2 separate regions of the Homo sapiens genome follow, and region 2 is linked to region 1. Evidence: promoter capture Hi-C in human tissues and cell types (Jung and others, 2019). All regions are on one chromosome and are shown on one strand. Each heading gives the region's core, a stretch centred on a gene start or on the middle of the fragment in contact. The rest is flanking DNA. Distances are from core to core; before and after follow the strand shown. Region 1 holds the start of SRL (sarcalumenin). Region 2 overlaps ADCY9 (adenylate cyclase 9).

The links. Contacts are between HindIII fragments. The study calls those that stand out against the background at their distance.
Region 2: a fragment that was not itself captured here is called in contact with the fragment with the promoter of SRL in region 1 in 10 of the 25 tissues and cell types used here (IMR-90 fibroblasts, heart right ventricle, hippocampus and 7 more).

The regions. Positions count from the first base shown.
Region 1 is chr16:4,239,642-4,246,051 of GRCh38, reverse strand. It overlaps SRL (sarcalumenin), which reads left to right and starts at 3,972. Exons shown (of 6, transcript NM_001098814.2): 1 at 3,972-4,045. The coding sequence starts at 3,985. LINC01569 (long intergenic non-protein coding RNA 1569) reads left to right here. Exons shown (of 3, transcript NR_039999.1): 3 at 1-227. The HindIII fragment of the contact is 19,223 bases long and covers 1-6,410 here.
Region 2 is chr16:4,053,072-4,059,481 of GRCh38, reverse strand. The region is part of intron 2 of ADCY9 (adenylate cyclase 9); the gene reads left to right. LOC124900373 (a long non-coding RNA gene) reads left to right here and starts at 4,862. Exons shown (of 2, transcript XR_007064957.1): 1 at 4,862-5,447; 2 at 5,661-6,410. The HindIII fragment of the contact is 3,542 bases long and covers 1,190-4,731 here.

The DNA of each region.
Region 1 (6,410 bases), core at 2,723-5,222:
CTGGCTGTCAGGTCCTCCAAATAAACATTTGTGACTGTGATGTTGACTTGCCGCTTCTGGGGACCTCTTCTCATTTGATCGGAGAAAGTTTTTCAGGGTTAAACCTACTTCTTTCCCCCAAGAAACTCTTCTTGTCAGGCTCACGCCTATAATCCTGGCACTTTGGGAGGCCAAGGCAGGAGGATTGTTTGAGACCAGCCTGGGCAACGTAGGTAGACTATGTTGCTACAAAAAGAAAAAGAAAAAATGGCCAGGTGTAGTAGTCCCAGCTGCTTGGAGGCTGAGGTAGGAGGTTTGCTTGAGCCCAGGAGGTCGAGGCTGCAGTGAGCTATGATTGTGCCACTGCACTCTAGCCTGGGAGACAGAATGAGGCCCTGTCTCAAAAAAAAAAAAAAAAAAAAAAAGATGATGAAACTCCTCACGTATTTCTCCCCGGAGCATGTGCTCCCAGGCTCAAATCCACAGCAGCCTCGTTACACACACGTCATCCCCTGGCCCCGAGATATTGCACCGCCTTCCCCTTTCTAGCTCTGAACCCCCACATGAAGCAGCCAGACGTAGGAAAACCCAGATTCATAAAGCGCTGATATGGGTGGTCCTTTACCAAAGGATTTTCTGCTTTACAAAGTAATTCACCAAATGATTTCCCTAGAGTATGGGCAGAGATTTGCAAACTACAGCTTGGAACCAAGCTGCCTTTTTTTTATAATAAAGTTTTATCAGGATGCATCCACATCCATTCATCTCTGTGGTGCCAGCTGCTCTAGCTACACAGGCAGAGTGGAAGAGTTGCAGATGGCCAACAAAACCTAAACTGTTTACCGCCTGGCCCCTTATAGAAGCAGCTGGCTGACGCTGGCTCCAGGGCATCAGAAATGGGACCATTGGAAAGGAGTAGCCGGGCTACATGGTTTTTCTTCTGCCCCACGTCTTGTTCTCAAACATGCTTCCTCCCCAGTCATCTGAGGAATGTCAGTCTGAGACAGTCAGGAGCAGGTGTGCCTAGGGATGCATGGTTTCTGAAAATGGGGTGGGGTCTTTTAGGCTGAGGGCTCTGGCAGCTTCTGTCTGAAGGCTGAGCTGAGCTGAGCAGAGCTGGGCATGGTGGCTCACGCCTGTAGTCCCGGCTACTCAGGAGGCCAAGGTGGGAGAATCACTTGAGCCTGGGAAGTTCAGAGGAGCCTGGGCAACACAGTGAGACCTCATCTTTATTTTTTGAAATTTTTTGTTTTTATTATTTTTTTAATTTTTAGGAGCAGAGGGTTAATAGGCAAAAGAAAGAGAGAGAGGAAAACAGCTCTCTCCAGTGAGAGAGAGGGTACTTCTGAAAGGAAAACGCCACCGGCAGCAGATGCACTGGATTTTATAGTCAGGCTTGAGGAGGTGGTGTCTGATTTACATAGGGCTCACAGATTGGTTCAGTCAGGTATGATGTTTACATAGCGCTGGGGTGTGGGGAAGGCTGACCTCCCCACTCTAATCTTATTATGCAAATGAACTTTCCCCTTGGCCAGCACCATCTTGTCTGCTCCTTACTGTGCACGTGGCTGGCAGAGAAGGGAAGATGGAGCCGCCATTTTGAACATGATTGGCACAACTGCCTGCATCTATGTCTGCAGCTCGATTTTACACGCTGCTCTTTGTTAGAAAGGAAAATGATTTGGGGCTGCTTTTCAGTAAAAGGAAAACCTTACTGAGGACTTCTGTATCCTCACTATCTAAGTAATTTCCTCTTAACTCCTGTATCATTCCCCACTCTGGAGTGGTAACCCTAACTGCTCTTCGGGGTTGTTTGATGATGACTCTTTCTGGCTACTTCATACTTAAAAGGGGTGTTGTGTGGGGAACAGAAGCTAAGGGCTCCTCCTGGGGTCGAGCTAAGGGTCCTCGGAAAAAAGGCATGTCCGTGCATGGTTCTGTCTGCAGCACCATTTAGAGTTTGATTACTGTCAGCCATTCTGATGGGTTGTAACACTGGTTTGCCTCCACCAGATGTTGAGATAGTTTCCAGATTCCAGAGAAACCAGGCAGAGAGAAACAAACATGCTCCAAATTTTCTTCACAGGAGTATACCTTATTCAATTATTAAAGGCCATAAATAGTTCACAATAAGTTTTCTTGACTCGTTTTGATGAGTGTTGTACCTTGGGATCCCGGATGAGGTCCCCAACATGAAGCAGCTACATTGTTTGGGGTAAATACCTGGGGTTCATTGTCTCACGCCAAGAAAATTTAGGACACAGACACACATGAGGAGTTTAGGAGCAGAGGTTTAACAGGCAAAAGAAAGAGAAAGAAAAACAGCTCCTTAGTGAGAGAGAGGGGACTTCCAAGAGGAAAAGTCCCAAGACCTTGTCTTTGAAAAAGCAGTAGCTCATGCCTGTAATCGTAGTGCTTTGGGAGGTCGAGACAGGAAGATTGCTTGAGCCCAGGAGTTGGAGACCAGCCCGAGTGACATAGGAAGACCATGTTTGCAAAAAACAAAAAAATTAGCCAGATGTGGTGCACACCTGTATTCCCAGCCCCTCGGAGGTTGAGGTGAGAGGGTGGCTTGAGCCCAGGAGTTCAAGGCTGCAGTGAGCTATGATCGTGTCACTACTCCAGCCAGGGTGACAGAGACCCTGTCTCTTAAAAAAGATTAAAAAAAAAAAAAAAGTCAAGTGCCTACCAGATGCCTAATTCTTTTTTTTTTTTTTTTTTTTTTTGAGACAGAGTCTCGCTCTGTTGCCCAGGCTAGAGTCAGTGGTGCAATCTTGGCTCATGGCAACCTTCGCCTCCTGGGATCAAGTGATTCTCCTGCCTCAGCCTCCTGAGGAGCTGGGATTATAGGCACCCGCCACCACACCCAGTAATTTTTGTATTTTTAGTGGAGATGGGGTTTCACCATGTTGGCCAGGCTGGTCTCAATCTCCTGACCTCAGGTGATCCACCCGCCTCGGCCTCCCAAAGTGCTGGGATTACAGGTGTGAGCCACTGTGCCTGGCCCTGATTTAGTTCCTTTCCTCCAAGGCTGGCTTCTACCTCTTCCCCACACAGTGACACTGTACCCCGACCAGACAAGCAAGTGTCTGCTTTCCCTTGGCTTCTTACAACTGGCTCTCTGGGCCATCTACAAAAAATTTTAAAAAATTAGTACAGCATGGTGGCACTACTGTCCTAGCTACTTGGGAGGCTGAGTTGGGAGGATTGATTGAGCCTGGGAGGTCGAGTGCAGTGAGTGATGATTGTGCCACTGCAGTCCAGCCTGGGTGACAGAGCGAGATCCTCTATCAAAAACAAATAAACAAAAAAGCACTTTGCAGAGGTGACTGAATGTTCTGGAACCCCTGGGCCATTGGAAATGGATATCTGTTGCTCCATCCTCCAGTTTACACCGTAGCCTCAGCTTGTGTCTCAGTGTGCCCCTCTCCCTCTGGTCTGTGCTCTCTCTCTTCCAGAGGCTGGGAAGGTTGTTCCAGGGCTGCAGCCTTGGACCTCAGAGGTCACATGTTGCGGGTTTGCCGTAGCTGACCACTCTCTAGCATGTGGATCAGTGGCTGTTAAATAGGATTTCTTTTGCGTGGCCTTACAACTTCCTCCTTCCAGTGCAGGCGTGTCAAGGTCCTTAACCTGCCGAGACTTCAGGTCAAGTTATTGCAAGTTCTGGGAAGACTCAGCTTCCCAGCTCCACCGCCTGAGCCCAAGGGATGCTCCATTTTATGCCTGTCACCCACGCCCTGTGACCCATGTCATGTGATCCCAGGGCTGCAGGGGTTCGGGGGAAGAGAATCCAGCCACGGCCCTGCCTTCTGGGGCCTGGCAGCTGGGACAGCAGTGGCGCAGCCTGAGCCTCTGCACAGCCTTCTGGGGTCCGGGCTTCTTCCCCATCACACCCTCCTAGTTGCCCTGGTGACTGTGTGACCCCTCTCCCCCCTCCACCGCCTGCTGCCACGGCCGGCCGTATAAATAGAGGCGAGGAGCAGCTGGGCTCTCTTGGCAGTCACCATGAGGGCGCTGGTCCTGCTCGGCTGCCTCCTGGCCTCGCTCCTGTTCTCAGGACAAGCAGGTAGGGCCCCTCCCAGCATGACCCAGCCCAGACTGGTCCCCCACGCTTCCTCCAAGGTTTTCTGTCTACCATGGGTTGGGTAGGGGGTCGGGGCTGATGGCAAACCCTGGCTCTTGGCTGGTGTCTTCTTACCCTTCTCTTTTCCCCGGGCCTGGGGCCTCAGAGAAAGAGCTGGGTGCTGGAGAATAGCAGCACAGTTGCGGGGCCCTCAGGAAGGCCAGAGGAAGTGGGAACGGCAAACAGAGCTGAGCTGTGAGCCAGGGTCAGAGAGGAGTCTGGCCAGTAGATGTGGGAAAGAGGGCCCTCAAAGTCGAGACGGGGGAGCCTCTGAGACGGACAAAATAGCACAGTCTGGGAGCTGGAGGTCGTTGAGGTGACCCTCCCACCTGGTGGGATATAAGGCGGAGGCCCCACTCGGGTAAGAGAACTGGGTTTGCGTGGACAGAAGGGGATACAGTGGGCAAAGGTGGGGACCGTTTTGGGAGCAGTGAGATAGAATTGGAATTGGTTTGGGATAAGATCGGAAATAGAGTTGGCGGTTGGGCTGGAAACAGCATTGGATGCAATTCAGAAGAGGAACGGGGCCCGTTCTGGAGTAGAGCCTCTGCTCGGGGTGGGGGCTTCCATCAGAAAAGGGGCTTGGCTCTGTGTGCTGAGGCTTCCCTTTGACATCTCAGCACTTTGGGTAGCAGAGGTGGTGGCTTGGGTTGCAGCATGGGGGTTATCTATAGGCTATGGAGGAGATGCCAGATTGTTTTGCCACCTCTCTTGTTCCTAAGGTTCCTGAGGCCAGGTTCCCCGAGGGAATGCTTTTAGGGAGGTGCTCCGGGGATCCCCCTAGGATCCGGACTGCCCACCGAGTCTTTTCATGACTCGGCAGTCTTCCCCCAAGCTGGGCTCTGAGCCTAGGTCCGTACCTGGGACTGGAGAGGCCCAGAGTCCAGCCTCTCAGGTCTTTGAGGTTGAATAGGGGGTTGCAGGGGCACAGTCCCTGCAGGGAGAGCAGGCAGTGGGTGGGAACAAAAGCTATTTCTCGGGGACTCAAGATGTAAGGTGGGGGGCTCCAGCCACTGCATGTGCTGCTGGGCCCTGCCCTTGTCTGTCCTTGAGTTAATTTGGGCTCTGCAGGGCTGCAGCGGCTTGAGTGCTGAGTATTCCAGGCGGCTGTCAGGCGGCTAAGTATGGAAACAGCCGCGTAATTGGATCCGGAGCCCCAAGCCGCTGCCACCCTCTCCCTTCGTGGCCGCTCCTGTGCTGCCCCCCAGCCCCAGCTGCTGGGCTGCTACACACTGGGCCCCAGGAATTTTTGGCCTTTTAGGGACATCCTTTATCTTTCCTCCCACCGAGGGAACTGGTCATCTGGAATGTTCTGCAGGCCTCGCTGGGGGCTCTTGTCGTGGGGAAAGGACGCAGGCAGGTGCTTGTGCAAAGGTCCCTTCTCTCTGCTGTCTTTCCTTCCTGGGTCCCACAGCGTGCGTCTGCCCCTGGCCCAACCTCCGGCGTAAAGCTTCCCTCTGTCCCTGCTCCTGCTCAGCACTTGGGCTGTGGGTTTCATCCACTGTGGTGGATTTTATCAGGACTCTGCCCCACTGTGGACTGTATACCCCAGAATAGGCCTCCTCCTGCATCCACCGGCAGGTTCTAACCCACAAGGTGGCTTCCTCACGCCCCCATCATGACAGTCCTTCCTACTGGGTGATTTCCCCTTCAGAATTGTGCCACCCCGGTAAATACCACCCCACCCAAAGGTCACATCTTGGCTCCTGACCTCTTTCCCTCATCTCTCCGCTGTGTGCTAACTTCCCTCCCTATCATGCTTGCTCCTTGGCTGGGTGGCGGCAGATATTCTCGCTCACCACTCCCATCTGCTTCCTAGGCCAGGGACCCCACAGAGCTTCTCCTCCGGCTTCTCCTCCTTGTTGCTCGTGTGCAGCTCTGGCTGGGGTGGTGGGCTCTGCAGCCCTCCTTCTCGCCTCCCTGTGAGGAGACAAGCGCCCCTCTGTTACCAACCACCCGTCGCCCGTGCCCATGCCAGGACGGGGAAGGAGCAGCCAGGTGGGGCCTTACCCGGTTTCCACCTCCCGACCTGCTGCTGCACTCAGGCCTTTGTACCACCCACTGGGCCCTCCTCTTTGGGAGTCCTGGCTTGGGGCTGTTCCTCCTTAAAGCAGTGGGAAACGCCCCTAGCAATGATTTGATCGGTCTCCCCACCATCCAGGGAAGGGAAGGAAACCCAGAGAAACAGGAAAACTTTTCCGAGGTCAGACAGCGCGTCAGTGACAGGCACACCCGGGCCAGGGTCCTCTCCTTTCCTCAGCCCGTCTCTCTGTGACAGACCCTGCCTGCACTCCCAAGCCCCTCTCTC
Region 2 (6,410 bases), core at 1,711-4,210, 190 kb after region 1:
TCACTTCATTATTCCAGAAGTTCTTCCCCTCTCCCCAGGTCATCTTTTTGGTTTTTTCTTCTAACTTTCTTTCTTTCTTTTTTTTTCTTTTTTTTTTTTTTTCGATGGATTCTCGCTGTGTCGCCCAGGCTGGAGTGCAGTGGCATGATCTCGGCTCACTGCAGCCTCTGCCTTCCAGGTTCTAGCACTTCTCCTGCCTCAGCCTCCCAGGTTGCTGGGATTACAGGCACCCGCCACCAGCTAATTTTTGTATTTTTTAGTAGAGATGGAGTTTCATCATGTTGGCCAGGCTGGTCTCGAACTCCTGACCTCAGGTGATCTGCCCACCTCGGCCTCCCAGAGTGCTGGGATTAAAGGCGTGAGCCATCGTGCACGGCCGGTTTTTCTTCCAACTTTCTAAGTACTATAAGCTTGTTGTAAAATTTGGCAATATAGAAATGTATAAAATGGAAATGAAAATCTTTACTAATCCCATCCCTTAAAGATAGCCACTGTTAATAAGTTAGTGACTTGCTTTCCAAGCTTTAATCATCTTTCTTTAATCATCATATTTTTGATTATATCCTCTTACCAAAGTTCCTTTACCCCTCACCACAAAGGTTTCTAATTCAGAGACTTCCTTTAGCTCCCTTGATTCAAGGAGATAAAGTTAATTAGCAATCAGGAGATGAGGAGCCCTTTCCTGGCAAGGACAGAATTCTAAGACGGAGGGATTTTTAGCTCCTCGGTGGACTCAGTTCCGCTGCACCTTTTGCAGCATCTTGCCTGCTGGGTCTCCTCTCTGCAGTTTTCTTGTTCCCTGGCCTTTTATCCTCCTGATCACACATACCTTCCCAGGTTCTCCAGGAAAGTAGTGGATCAGTCACTTCCCCCTGCAACGTCATTGTAGGCATGATTACATCTTGGAGTGTTCTCTCAACAAGAGTCAGTGTAGCATGGGGTTCCGGGCCTGAGCTCTGGTGTCACATTGCTTGGAGTTCAAATTTCAATTCTTCTTCTTTTTTTTTTTTTTTTCTTGGAGACAAGAGTTTCTCTGTTTCCCAGGCTGGAGTGCAGTGGGGCGATCTTGGCTCACTGCAACCTCTGCCTCCCAGGTTCAAGTGATTCTCCTGCCTCAGCCTCCTGAGTAGCTGGTACTACAGGTGCACGCCACCATGCCTGGCTAATTTTTGTATTTTTAGTAGAGACGGGGGTTTTACCGTGTTGGCCAGGGTGGTTTTGAACCCCTGACCTCAAGTGATCTTGCCACCTTGGCCTCCCAAAGTGTTGGGATTACAGGCATGAGCCACTGCGCCCAGCCTCAACTCTCTTTTTTTTTTTTTTTAGACAGAGTCTCACTCTGTCACTCAGGCTGGAGTGCAGTGGCATGATCTCGGCTCACTGCAACCTCCACCTCCTGGGTTCAAGCGATTCTTCTGCCTCGACCTCCCAAGTAGCTGGGATTACAGGTGCCCACCACCACGCCTGGCTAATTTTTGTATTTTTAGTAGAGATGGGGTTTCACTATGTTGGCCAGGCTGGTCTCGAACTCTTGACCTGAAGCGATCTGCCCACCTTGGCCTCCCAAAGTGCTGGGATTACTCAACTCTCCTTCTTAGAGTCCTTTGTGACCTTGGGTTCCCTGGGCCTTGGTTTTCTCATCTCTGAAGTGGGGCTGGGAGCAACTCTTGCAGCACTGGGTTGGAACGTGCTGGCCACAGTGCTCACACATCGAGAACACGCCGTAAATGCTCCCCGGGCCTCCGCTTCCTGGTGTCGTCATCCTTATTCAGAATGAACAAGAAATCACTCCTTCAGAGTAATGTTTCAGACAGAGGAGAGAGCTTTGTGGGGGCCCTCTGGCGTGCTCACAGAAGCTTTGGTATTCGTCAACCACTGTAGGAGCCAAGCATTTCCTACAGAATGCAGGGAGCAGGGCTGGCGGGGAGATAGTGCGTGAAAAGAGAGGCTGGTGTTGGGAAAGAAACAGAGACAGAACGGTGGCCGGCGGACAAACGACAATAAGCCAGGATGATGGTGTCACTGCAGCCGGGTGCGGAGTTTCTTTCTGGGGTGATGAAAGTGTTCTAGGTTGATGGTGGTGATGGTTGCACAGCCCTGTGTGAATATGCTAGACACCACTGAATTGTACCCTGGAAACAGATGAATTGTACGGTATGTGAATTATATCTCAATAAAGCTGTTATTAAAAAAAAGATGGACAGTCCCAGCTACTCAGGAAGCTGAGGCAGGAGTATTGCTTGAGGCCAGGGGTTGGAGGCTGCAGTGAGCCGAGATTGCACCACGGCACTCCAGCCTAGGCAACAGAACCAGACGCTTCTCTTTAAACAAAAACCTAAACAATTGTAGATTTTTTTAAAATGAGGCTTTTTGTTTTTTTTATGCCAAAACCCTTCATAGACATGAAATAACAGAAGAGTAAGATTGGCGGGGGGGGGGGGGGCGGTTTCATCAGTACAGGTTACCTGAAAGAACTGAGTTGTTGGTCTGACCTCTGCTAGGACTCGCCATGTGTCATGGCAGGCCTGGCACCTGAAGGAGAGCTTTAGCAATTTGCACTCACATCATCCTGGACCTCAGCCTGGGTGATGGTCACTGTCTTGAGACAGCTTCAGAACAGGCAACCTGGGTGTGGCCGCCTTGTCAACCAGAGATAATAAAAACACAGGTAAACCTCTGCACCTCCATCGTCATGCCGAATTATAACAACAGCACATATTTGTTGAAGTCTTACTATGCACTAGGCACAGTGCTGAGTGCCCATGATGCAGAGGGGAATTTGAGAGTGTCAGTCATTTCTGCCCCTTCGGATCACGCACTGCTTTCCAGTGTTCCCAGGAGACCAGTTTTGAGGTTAGAATTCTGCTTCTTACAGTGAGGACTGATTCTGACTCCTAGGAGGACGAAAGCCCCTTTTAAATTTACTTTGGCTGGGTGTGGTGGCTCACGGCTGTAATCCCAGCACTCTGGGAGGCCGAGGTGGGTGGATCACTTGAGGTCAGCATTTTCAGACCAGCCTGGCCAACATGGTGAAACACCATCTCTACTAAAAATACAAAAATTACCTAAGTGTGGTGGTGCACGCCTATCGTCCCAGCTACTTGGGAGGCTGAGGCAGGAGAATCCCTGGAGCCCGGGAGCGGAGGTTACAGTGAGCTGAGATTGCATCACTGCACTCCAGCCTGGATGACAGAGTGAGACTCGTCTCAAAAACAAAACAAAACACAACAAAACATTACTTTGAAGCCACAGCATTTTGCACAGGTAGGAAAACTGCTGGGCCTGGAGATCTTCTATAAATATGTTGAGAGCTGATGTTGAAGAGATTATTGAAGAATCCTGATGTCACAGAATTTTCTATAGACAACCTCCTTGCGGGGAGGGCGCAGCTTTCGGGTTCTGTATCGCACAACACCGGCTGGGAGCTCCCTGCATGTGTGTTTCCAGCACTGCCTGTCTATGGGAGCTAAGGAAGTGGCTTCAAAACCGCTTGCCAGAGACGCGCAGTCACCCAGTCGTTGCAGCGCTTGTACTTGTGGGAGCTGTCTTGCAGGCTCAGGCATCTTTGATAAGGAATTCCTCATACTTAGAAGTGGCACCTTTGTTCTGCTGGGGAATTGTTCCCAAAAGGTATCTTTTTTTTTTTTTGAAACGGATCCTCGCTCTGTCGCCCACGCTGGAGTGCAGTGGCACCATCTCGGCTCACTGCAAGCTCTGCCTTCTGGGTTCATGCCGTTCTCCTGCCTCAGCCTCCCAAGTAGCTGGGACTACAGGCGCCCGGCGCCACGCCTGGCTAATTTTTTTGTATTTTTAGTAGAGACGGGGTTTCACCGTGTTAGCCGGGATGGTCTCGATCTCCTGACCTCGTGATCCCCCCACCCCGGCCTCCCAAAGTGCTGGGATTGTAGGTGTGAGCCACCGCGTCTGGCCTTTTTTTTTTTCCTTTTTGAGACAGAGTCTTGCTCTGCTGCCCAGGCTGGAGTACAATGGCCTGATCTTGACTCACTGCAACCTCTACCTCCTGGGTTCAAGCAATTCTCCTGTCTCAGCCTCCCGAGTAGCTGGGATTATAGGTGTGTGCCACTATGCCCAGCTAATTTTTTGTATGTTTAGTAGAGACAGGGTTTCACCATGTTGGCCAGGTTGGTCTTGAACTCCTGACCTCAAGTGATCTGCTCGCCTCAGCCTCCCAAAGTACTGGGATTACAGGTGTAAGCCACCACGCCTGACCCCAAAAGACATCTAAAAAGGCTTTTTCACTTGTGAAATCTGCTGAATAGAGCTGGCTTCCTGAGGCCTGGGGGCCCTTCCCGGTGTGGAAGAATGGCTCTGCTGTTGGCTACCACAGTGCTGGGGCCTGTACTCCCACCTCCTCTGCCTCTGTCTGCCTTGTGTGCCTCCCCTTCCGCGGGGGCCCTGCTCTCTGCCTCTTTCTGACCTTCCAGAGTTTTTGAGGTGTGAGTGTGTTGTTGAATTTCATTTACATAATAATTAAAGAGTCAGGGTTTCATGATCTACTGATGTAAAACCCGCAAAAACCCTAAAATCTCGAGTGGTGTTGTACAGCATGTGGGATTCTTTTGTATAACTTGATGATTTTCAAAATATCCATTTCGGCTGGGCACAGTGGCTCACACCTGTAATCCCAGCACTTTGGGAGGTCGAGGCAGGTGGATCACGAGGTCAGGAGATTTAGACCATCCTGGCTAACACAGTGAAACCCGTCTCTACTAACAATACAAAATTAGCCGGGCATGGTGGCGGGCACCTGTAGTCCCAGCTACTCGGGAGGCTGAAGCAGGAGAATTGCTTGAACCCGGGAGGCGTAGCTTGCAGTGAGCCGAGATTGTGCCACTGCACTCCAGCCTGGGTGACAGAGCGAGAGTCCGTCTCAAAAAAAAAAAAAGAAAAAAATCCATTTAATCAGAGCCATACTTGTTGATTACTACAGGTGCTTCCCGTATCTAATACCTCCAGCAAGAAGGTTTGCGAAATGGGCAGAGAGTAATAGGAAGAGTTTCAGGAAGATGGTTTGAGTGAAAATCATTTCAGAACCGAGCCCTGCGAAGTCTTGGTTTCTGCAATCCACCACAGTTTGGGAAAATCGGGAATTTTGTTTAGTCCATTTCTATTTTTGTGCACCACAAATATGTAAACAAAGCTGGGATCTTCGTCGGGGGCGGAGGGAAGGGCGACAGAACCCTGACATCTAATACTGGTCATCGGTATTTCCATGTGTTTCCTGATCCCATTGTCTCTGCTATTTAAATTAATTAATTCCACAAGTATGCACTCAGTAAATATTGTGAGCCAGGCACTATTCTCGGCTCTGTGGTTGCATCAGTGAACAAAACAGACGCTAATCCTGCTTTCGTGAGCCATCTATAATAGAATGGGCGAGTCAAGAAATTGACACATGCATTAGAAAAATATGTAGCGTGTCGCTGGTAAGTGCTTGAGAGCTCATCAGGGAAGGGCAGGAGTTTGTGGAGTGGGGGTGAGGGATGTGGGGTGGGGCGGGGCAAGGGTGGCAAGAGGCCTGGGGCTGCTGGTTGCAACTGTAACCAGAGTGGCCAGGGAAATCCTTGCTCCTCTGGGTAATGCCCTATCCAGAAGACCCTTGCAAATTTCTAAAATGCTGTGTTTTATTACCGAGAAAGAGTCGTCTGGGAGCTCTCCGAGGCAAATAACTTTTGAAGTTGGCATGAGCAGGATATTGTGCAATGGGGCTCACTGGCTGCGTCCCAGGCCTCCGCATCTGATGTGAACCACAGCTTTGCAATCGGGTCCCCGTGCCATCCAAAAATATTTTGTGACCTTGCCGGTTGGCAGTTTTTTAAAAATGTTATTTTCAGTCTCCAAAAAAGGGAAACATCAAAGTGCAGGCTGTCCACTCCTGCCCTTCTTGATAGACACAGACAGCTGGGCCACACAATCAGCCATTGTGGCGACAAGTGCCCAACTGTTATAAATAGACGGCGGGCTCGCACGTGAAGCGCTCCAGAGGAAGGGCAAGTGCTCTGGGGACACTGCCAACTGCTGTTTCCGTCGAGAGCTCTTCTCAAAGATCAATATTATTTTATGTCTCAGTGACTGAATTTGAAAAAACGACTGTGAAAGCACCTGGTAACTTAACTGTCTCCAGGATTCCATTCCAAACGCATCTTCTCTCTTCACTGTTAATCTTAGATGTTTCCCATGCTTATTTAGTAATCATTGCCTGACGGCCCACTTCACTGCGATTTACAGTCTCTTGCGGCTCACTTGAAATGGTAGAGTTATGGATAACCGCGCTGGTGTATGTGCGTGTGATGCGTGGCCGGAAGCGCATGCCCATTGAATAATCACGTTCGTCCCACATCTTAGCCCCTCTTCCAAGACATGTTTACTATCGTTTACGTGTGACATGT